Linked DNA regions of Homo sapiens: region 2 is linked to region 1. Evidence: promoter capture Hi-C in human tissues and cell types (Jung and others, 2019). All regions are on one chromosome and are shown on one strand. The core of a region is centred on a gene start or on the middle of the fragment in contact, and the rest is flanking DNA. Distances in the headings are between cores, read along the strand shown.

Evidence for each region. Contacts are between HindIII fragments. The study calls those that stand out against the background at their distance.
Region 2: a contact is called between a fragment that was not itself captured here and the fragment with the promoter of DOC2A in region 1, in 3 of the 25 tissues and cell types used here (dorsolateral prefrontal cortex, lymphoblastoid cells and spleen).

The regions. Positions count from the first base shown.
Region 1 is chr16:30,008,443-30,013,047 of GRCh38, reverse strand. DOC2A (double C2 domain alpha) reads left to right here and starts at 2,021. Exons shown (of 11, transcript NM_003586.3): 1 at 2,021-2,145; 2 at 2,813-3,087; 3 at 3,491-3,570; 4 at 3,772-3,846; 5 at 3,943-4,052. The coding sequence starts at 2,826. RefSeq lists a silencer at 2,055-2,114. The HindIII fragment of the contact is 30,604 bases long and covers 1-2,181 here.
Region 2 is chr16:30,610,844-30,615,448 of GRCh38, reverse strand. LOC124903678 (a long non-coding RNA gene) reads right to left here. Exons shown (of 2, transcript XR_007065051.1): 2 at 1-197. Among named protein-coding and RNA genes, the nearest start is that of ZNF689, 2.8 kb to the right of the region's middle. RefSeq lists an enhancer at 4,064-4,605. The HindIII fragment of the contact is 7,596 bases long and covers 1-4,605 here.

The DNA of each region.
Region 1 (4,605 bases), core at 772-3,271:
ATGGGTAATAAGTGATATCTCAGGGTTTTTTGTTTGTTTGTTTGTTTGTTTGTTTTGAGACTGAGTTTTGCTCTTACAGCCCAGGCTGGAGTGCAGTGGCACGATCTCAGCTCACTGCAACCTCCGCCTCCCGGGTTCAAGCGATCCTCCTGCCTCAGCCTCCCAAGACACATACCACCACGCCCGGCATTTTTAGCAGAGATGGGGTTTCACCATGTTGGCCAGGCTAGTCTCAAACTCCTGACCTCAGGTGATCCACCCACCTCGGCCTCCCAAAGCGCTGGGATTACAGGCGTGAGCCACTGCGCCCCGCCCCCTCAGTGTTGTTGACTTTACATTTCTCTTACTTTTTTTTTTTTTTTTTTTTAAGAGACTGTGTCTCACTGTGTTGCCCAGGCTGGCTTCACTCAAGCGATCCTCTCGCCGCAGTCCCTGGAGTAGCTAGGATTACAGGCACCCGCCACCACTCTCGGCCCCATTTCTCTTATTTAAAAAAAAAAAAATTGCCGTGAAATACGCATATCGAAATGTACCATCTTCACCATTTTTAAGGGTAAGATTAGGTGGTGTTAGGTATGTTCAGTTGTCGTGCAACCAGATTGCTGTTTTAAATAACAGCACTTAGAGATGCCGACTTCGTGCCAGGCCCAGTTTGGGACATTAGGGACTCCCAGATGAATCAGCCGCTCCAGTGGAACTCCCTGCTGGTGGGGGAGGCACTGGCGAAGCGGTGCTGAGCCGAGTCCTGACGGCGCTGGAGCTGAGGGGCAGTGCGGGATGCCCCAGGAAGGCTCCTAGGAAGAGGGGACCCACGGTGACTTCCTAAGGAAGCGCGGTTCCCAGGTAGAGGAGCGCATGTGAGCCAAGATCCCTAGGCCTGAGCCGTCTAGGTGTGTCCCAGGAACTGCAGGAAACGGTTGGGTGAGTCAGTGGTGGGCAGCGAGGGTGATAAGCCCCTTCGTGTCTTCGGGATGGTAAGTTTGGGGCACAGGTGAGTGAAGACCGAAGGCCAGGGGTGGACTGACACTCCGTGGCAGGCGCAGGGCCGGGCAGGGGGGCGGCTTGGGGGTGGCAAGGTTTGGGTGAGAAATGGCAGCCCATGGGGAACTACCGCAGGGCTCTGAGACCTTCAGAGCCAAGCCCCGACGCCCCTTCCCACCTGCGGGGCAGAACTGGGGATGGCAGGGGGGAGGGTGGTTCCCAAAGGAGATACCATCCCTGGTAAGGGGACATGGGCCCCTGGGAGTTGGGTTGGGCCACAAGGAGAGAGGCCTGAACGGCCAAAGGGAGGGGGCGTGGGGGAAGCCGCAGCATCAGACCTCTGCCTCCTCCCTCAGATCGTGAGGCTCCCCAGCCTGGCTCGGGAGACCCCGAGATCCCCGGCCGGTGACAGCAGGCGACCCCCTGCTCCTGTCAACCTGTGGGTCCCTACGGACGTGGGGAAGGGAGGAGGGAGGCCCCAGCTCCCTGCGGGGGAGGGGCGTGAAGACGCGCGGGGGTGGGGGGAGATGAGCCGGCGTCGCCATGACAACGAGGCCGGTGGTCCGGCCTTGGGGACCCGGGAGGGAGGGAGGCGCCGTGGCCGCGCGCGCGGGCGGGGGCGGGGGGCCAGGTCTCCCAGGAGTAGTTGGGGAACACCCGGCGATTCTGGCGGCTGCTTCCTGGTGGCGCAGGGAGCCCGCGTGTTTGCGAGTGCGTGTGTGTGCGAAGTTCTCCGGGTAAGTGTGCCAGCGCGCGCCTGGGTGTGTGCAAGGGTGTGAGCGTGCACACGTGGGCACGGGCGTGTGCGCGCGGGGGTGCCCGGTTGGATGTGTGCACACGAGTGTGTGCCGGTCCGCGTGCCCCTGCGTGAGTGTGCGCGCGCGAGCACACGTGTGTGTGCGCGCTCGCGTGCGCTCCCGAGCGGGCCCCGGGTGGGAGTCCGAGATCCCGCCCCCTCCCCAGCCCCAGCGCCCCTCCCCGTCCCCCGCCGCCGCGCCGGCTGCATCCTCGCCTCCACCTCGCTCACCCCCTCCTCCCCGCACTTTCTCGGCGCTCCCTCCCTCTCGGCTCGCACAGCTCGACTCCGCGCTCTCCTCGCCGGCCGCCGCCGCCCAGCCTGCGCCCGCCGTCCCCCCAGTGCCTGGGCACCTGTTGGAGGCAGAGGCAGGTGCAGGGGGCTGGGCAGGCCGGGGGCGTGAGGGTGCGGGGAAGCGTGCCAGCCTGTGTGCGCTACGGGGGTGTTCGGCTCTCCTGCGGCTGCAATTTCTGGCTCCCCTGAGGAGCCAGAGGTGGCATCTGAGGCTGGGGTCTCCACCGTGGGCTGTGGTGAGCGAGCGGGGGAACCAGGCAGGCAGACAGGTCCTGGGGCTGAATGAGGGGACAGTGGGCAGTTGGAGCCTAGAGGGGTGGGTGACACCCTGACTAGACCAGCGCCTGGTGCAGAGGAGGACAGAGCCTCCGAGAAACAGAGGCGGGGCCCTGCAGGGCCCCTTGGGGGACAGGCAGGCTCAGGAGCAGAGGGGAGCCCCGGAGGAGAGGAAGGAGCTGGCAAGATGATACAGGGACAACCTAGAAGTGGGTGGGTGAGGACGGGGTGGTGCAACCTCGACTTCTGCAAGGAGTGGGTTGGCAGCCCAGCCCCTGTGGAGTCAGCTTGGGGTCTGCAGGGCCCAGGCCTCCCACCTGCCACCGGCTGGCACACACCACCCTCTCCCTCGACACCTAGGAAGGGAGGCCAGTGAGGGCCCCACAGACCGAGGAGGCCGTCGCCTGGCCCTCAGCCAGGATGGCTAGGTATGATGGGCTCACTGGCTCACACGCCCTCTCCTAGCCAGGGGTGCTGCATGAGGGGCCGCAGGGGCGATCGCATGACCATCAACATCCAGGAGCACATGGCCATCAACGTGTGCCCCGGGCCCATCCGGCCCATCCGCCAGATCTCTGACTACTTCCCCCGGGGACCAGGACCTGAAGGGGGCGGCGGGGGCGGCGGGGAGGCCCCCGCCCATCTGGTCCCCCTGGCTCTGGCCCCCCCTGCAGCCCTCCTTGGGGCCACCACGCCTGAGGATGGTGCGGAGGTGGACAGCTATGACTCGGATGATGCCAGTGAGTCTGGGGGCTTGGAGGCCCCATGTGCTGGTGGGGGTCTCCAGGCTTGCCGTGGTGGGGGGAGAGGGGGATGGGCCCTGCTGGCTGTGCATGTAGGTAGGGGAGGAGGGCAGTGGGGGGGTGGCAGGGACGGCCACCACAGCTGCAGTCAGCGTGGAGATTACAGCTTCAGCAAGGCTCAATATTCAGTATTTCTGCTGAGACACTCCACCACCCACACAGCCCCAGTTGCGGCCGAGCCAGGGACCCAGACGCACACACGCATGGGCCCACTCAGCCTCTTGCACTCACACTCGCGGGCTGGCAAGAGAGAGAGACACACAGAGCCAGTGCCCACCTGCTGGCCTCTCGCACACACCTGTCTCCATACCGACCCATGCTGCCTTTCCTCTCTCTCCAGCCGCCCTAGGCACGCTGGAGTTTGACCTTCTCTACGACCGGGCCTCCTGCACTCTGCACTGTAGCATCCTCAGGGCCAAGGTGGGCACTCCCTGCCACCCAAGCCCGGGCCCGGTTTGCGTGCAGCCCCCAGAGGGGGCCCATTCCTCCTTCCCTTCCCAGGCCTGCTCCTTCGTCCTGCCCTTGCCCCCTCCTTCTGGGCTCCTCCAGGGTCCAGCTCTACAAGAGGGATGGAGAGAGGTGCCGGGAGCCTCTAGCCCTCTCCCCTGCCCTCCTCTCCAGGGCCTCAAGCCCATGGATTTCAATGGCCTCGCCGACCCCTACGTCAAGCTGCACTTGCTGCCTGGAGCCTGTAAGGTAACAGCCTCCTCTCGCCCCGCCCGGCCCAGCCCATGACTCCAGCCTGTGGGGCTGGAGGACAGGTATTGAGAACCTTTCATCCCCACATCCCAGGCCAATAAGCTAAAAACGAAGACTCAGAGGAACACACTGAATCCCGTGTGGAATGAGGACCTGACTTACAGCGGGATCACAGATGACGACATCACGCACAAGGTGCTCAGGTGAGGGCCCCCCTCCCCACCACCCAGCAGCAGCTCGGGGACAGCTGACATTGTAACCGCTGGTTGGTTGATCTATGTCCCATTAAGCCCGTACCTCTCTGATGCTCAAGAACCATCAGCGGCTCCCTAGCCCCTTTGGCAGCAGGCCAAAATTCTTCCCTGCCATTCCTGCCCCTCAATATCTCCTGCCTGCCAGGTGTGGTGGCTCACACCTGTAATCCCAGCACTTTGGGAGGCCGAGGTGGGCGGATCACTTGAGGTCAGGAGTTCAAGACCAGCCTGGCCAACTTGGTGAAACCCCCGTCTCTACTAAAAATACAAAAATTAGCCGGGCGTGGTGGCATGTACCTGTAAATCCCAGCTACTCGAGAGGCTGAGGCAGGAGGATCACTTGAACCCGGGAGGCAGAGGTTGCAGTGAGCCGAGATCGCACCACTGCACTCCAGCCTGGGTGATGGAGACTCCATCTCAAAAACAAAACAAAAGTATCTTCTGCCCCTCAAACAGAGGACTCCCTTCTTCCAACTGGCCAGTTCCACAACTCCTGAACTTT
Region 2 (4,605 bases), core at 913-3,412, 600 kb before region 1:
TGCCTACAGTGTGGCACTCCCCTTGCTGACTGGGAAACTTGCTCCAGCACCAGCTTATCCATGCAGGAGAGAAGCCCTACTGGTGCTTTGACTGTGTGTGGTGCGTGCACCAAAGAGGCTCCCTTGGCCATTCATAGGCACACGCATACAGGTGAGAAGCCTCAGTCCTGCTCTGAGTGTGGCATCTGCTTCTCCTGCTAAAAAAAAGAAAAAAAGAAATAAAAGCTTGGCTTTTCCCTTTTTAGATGGAGTCTCACTTTGTCCCCTAGGCTGGAGTGCAGTGATGTGATCTCAGCTCACTGCAACCTCTGCCTCCCATGTCCAAGCGATTCTCCTGCCTCAGCCTCCCAAGTAGCTGGGATTACAGGCATGTGCCACCACACCCGCCTAATTTTTTTGTATTTAGTAGAGAGGGAGTTTCACCATGTTGGTCAGGCTGGTCTTGAACTCCTGACCTCAGGTGATTTGCCCTCCTCAGCCTCCCAAAGTGCTGGGATTATAGGCACGAACCATCGTGCCTGGCCTGACTTTTCTTTTCTTTTTTGAGATGGAGTTTCACTCTTGTTGCCCAGGCTGGAGTGCAATGGTGCAATCTGGGCTCACTGCAACCTCAGCCTCCCCGGTTCAAGCGATTCTCCTGCCTCAGCCTCCTAAGTAGCTGGGATTACAGGCATGCACCACCACTCTCGGCTAATTTTTTGTATTTAGTAGAGACAGGGTTTCACCATGTGGGTCAGGCTGGTCTTGAACTCCTGACCTCAGGCAATCCACCCGCCTCAGCCTCCTGAAGTGCTGGGATGGATTACAGGTGTGAGCCACCACGCCCAGCTGACCTGACTTTTCTTAACAGATTCATGCAGCCCAGGTTTTTTGTTTGTTTGTTTGTTTTTGTTCTATTCATTTAAACACAGAGTCTCAATCTGTTGACCACGCTGGAGCGCAGTGGTGTAATAATCATAGTTAACTGCAGCCTTGAACTCTTGGGCTCAAGTCATCCTCTCGCCTTAGCCTCCCAAAGGGCTGGGACTACAGGCATGAGCCACCATGCCCACACGCCCAGCCACAATTAGGAGGCTAGAGCTCCCGCCTTTTTTTTTTGTTGTTGTTGTTGTTTTTGTTTTTTGAGACAGGATCTCATTCTTTCGCCCAGGCTGGAGTGCAGTGGTGCAATCTTGGCTACTGTAGCCTTGACCTCCCAAGTCTCAATCGATCCCCCCACCTCAGCTTCCCAAGTAGCTGGGACTATAAGTGCCCGACACCATGCCTAGTTAATTTTTGTATTTTTTGTAGAGAAAGGGTTTTGCCATGGTGGCCAGGCTGGTCTTGAACTCCTGGGCTCAAGCAATCCCCCCACCTCGGCCTCCCAAAGTGCTGGGATTATAGGTGTGAGCCACCACACCTAGCCTGTAACTGTAGTTTTTTTTCCACCACCTCTGTTCAAACATCTCCTTCCTCTGAATATCTCACTGCTGCCTCCTCATCCTCCTCCTCCTTCTTCTTTCTTCTCCTTCCTCTTTTTTTTTTTTTTTTTTGAGACGAGTCTCGCTCGGTCGAAAGCTCCGCCTCCCGGGTTCACGCCATTCTCCTGCCTCAGCCTCCTGAGTAGCTGGGACTACAGAAGCCCACCACCATGCCTGGCTAATTTTTTATATTTTTAGTAGAGACGGGGTTTCACCGTGTTAGCCAGGATGGTCTTGATCTCCTGACCTAGTGATCTGCCCGCCTCGGCCTCCCAAAGTGCTGGGATTACAGGCGTGAGCCACCAAGCCCAGCCTTTTTTTTTTTTTTTTTTTTTGAGACTTAGTCTTACTCTGTCACCCAGGCTGGAGTGCAGTGGCACCATCTTGGATCACTGCAACCTCCGCCTTCCAGTTTCAAACAATTCTCTTCGGCTGGGCCTGGTGGCTCATGTCTGTAATCCCAGCACTTTGGGAGGTCGAGGCGGACAGATCAGCTGAGGTCAGGAGTTCAAGACCAGCCTGACCAACATGAAGAAACCCCATCTCTACTAAAAATACAAAATTAGCTGGGTGTAGTGGCGCATGCCTGTAATCCCAGCTACTCGGGAGGCTGAGGCAGGAGAATCGTTTGAATCCGGGAGGCGGAGGTTGTGGTGAGCCGAGATTGCTCCATTGCACTCAGCCTGGGGAACAAGAGCAAAACTCCGTCTCAAAACAAAACAAAACAAAACAAAACAGAAAACAATTCTCATGCCTCAGCCTCCCAAGTAGCAGGGACTATAGGCATGTGCCACCAAGCCCGGCTAATTTTTGTATTTTTAGTAGAGACAGGGTTTTGCCATGTTGGCCAGGCTGGTCTTGAACTCCTGGCCTCACGTGATCCACCCACCTCGGCCTCCCAAACTGCTGGGATTACAGGTGTGAGCCACTGCTCCCGGCCTCATTGCCTTCTAATTTTGTGACTTTTCCTGCCACATTGTTTGTCTTTATTCCTTGAAAGCTTTGAGGTTAGTGTTTTGCCCATAGTATATGCTTTACAATATTGATTAAAGGGTTAGAGAGATAGATGTGCATGTCACTAGCTAAGAGACATGGCAAATGGTGTATTCTCCTGCTCGCAGGACCCTTGGGGGTGGCATTGAGCTGGTGAAACTCTGCAGTATAACACATACATAGAAGTAGGGGCTAGGGCGGGCGTGGTGGCTCATGCCTGTAATCCCAGCACTTTGGGAGGCAGAGGTGGTTGGATCATGAGGTCAGGAGTTCGAGACCAGCCTGGCCAAGATGGTGAAATCCCGTCTCTACTAAAAATACAAAAATTAGCCGAGCAAAGTGGCGGGTGCCTGTAATCTCAGCTACTCGGGAGGCTGAGGCAGGAGAATCACTTGAACCCGGGAGGCCAAGGTTGCAGTGAGCCGAGTTTGCACCACTGCACTCTAGCCTGGGCAACAGAGCAAGACTCCGTCTAAAAAAAAAAAAAAAAAGGGCTGGGCACAGTGGCTCACGCCTGTAATCCCAGCACTTTGGGAGGCTGAGACGGGTGGATCACGAGGTCAGGAGATCAAGACCATCCTGGCTAACATGGTGAAACCCCGTCTCTACTAAAAATACAAAAAATTAGCTGGGCGTGGTGGCGGGCGCCTGTAGTCCCAGCTACCCGGGAGGCTGAGGCAGGAGAATGGCGTGAGCCCGGGAGGCGGAGCTTGCAGTGAGCCGAGATGGCGCCACTGCCCTCCAGCCTGGGTGACAGAGCGAGACTCCGTCTCAAAAAAAAAAAAAAAAAAAAAATGTGGAGGCTAATGGGGTGGGTGCTGGCTTGTTCCATCAGCAATTTTCAGTTCAGTGCCTTTCACATACATGCTTGTATCATTCTGTTATGATTCATTGTGAATTTATATGCTTTACTAGACTGTAAGCTCCATTCAAAGCATGGCCTATGACTTATTTATGTACGCTCTCCCAATTGCCTAGCACTATGCTTTGTACGTTGAACAAATGTCACGTGAAAATAATGTAGGGAGATTATGCAGAATATTGAACTTGAGAAGAAAACAAGAGCTCAGGTGGATTCCTGGTTTAGCAAGCAAATTAGGATACTGTGAAGGAAGGATGCCTATCAGTGGTATGAATAAAGGCTCTGTCTGCCCCAGGTTTAAATCTTTATTCCCCACTCCTTACTAGCAGTATGGCCCTGGAAACTCATGGAATCCCTCTGAGATCGTTTCTTCATTAGTAGAACCAGGATGATAACCATTGGTTCACAAAATGCTAGTAAAGAATTAATAACGGGCTGGGTGTGGTGGCTCACTCCTGTAATCCCAGCACTTTGGGAGACCGAGGTGGGCGGATTGCTTGAGCTCAGGAGTTCGAGACCAGCCTGGGAAACATGGCGAAACACCGTCTCTACCAAAAATACAAAAAATTAGCAGAGCACTGTGGGTGCATGCCTTCACTCCAGCCTGGGCAACGGAATGAGACCCAGTCTCAAAAAAAAAAAGCGAATAACTAATGGCTCCGGTGCTGTGGCTTATGCCAGTAATCCCAGCCCTTTGGGAGGACGAGGCAGGAGGATCACTTAGCCTAAGGGTTCGAGACCAGCCTGGGCAACACAGGGAAACCCTGACTCAACAAATAACATAAAAAATTAGCCAGGCGTGGTAGTGCACACCAGTAGTCCCAGTTACTCTGAAGGCTGAGGCAGGACGATTGCTTGAGCCCAGGAGTTAGAGGCTGCAGTGAGCTGAGATTGCACTACTGCATTCCATCCCGCCCGGGTAACAGAGTGAGACCCTGTCTCAAAAAAATAAAAATAAGGCCGGGCATAGTGGCTCACGCCTGTAATCCTAGCACTTCGTGGGGCCGAGGTGGGTGAATCACTTGAGGTCAGAAGTTCGAGACCAGCCTGGCTAACATGGTGAAACCCCATCTCTGCTAATAAATATGAATATTAGTCAGGAGTGGTGGCACGCGCCTGTAATCTCACTTACTCGGGAGGCTGAGGCAGGAGAATCGCTTGAACGTGGGAGGTGGAAGCTGCAGTGAGCCGAGATTTCGCCACTGCACTCCAGCCTGGGCGACAGAGCACGACTCTGTCTCAAAAATAAATAAATAAAATAAAAATAAAAAATAATAAAGATGAAATATG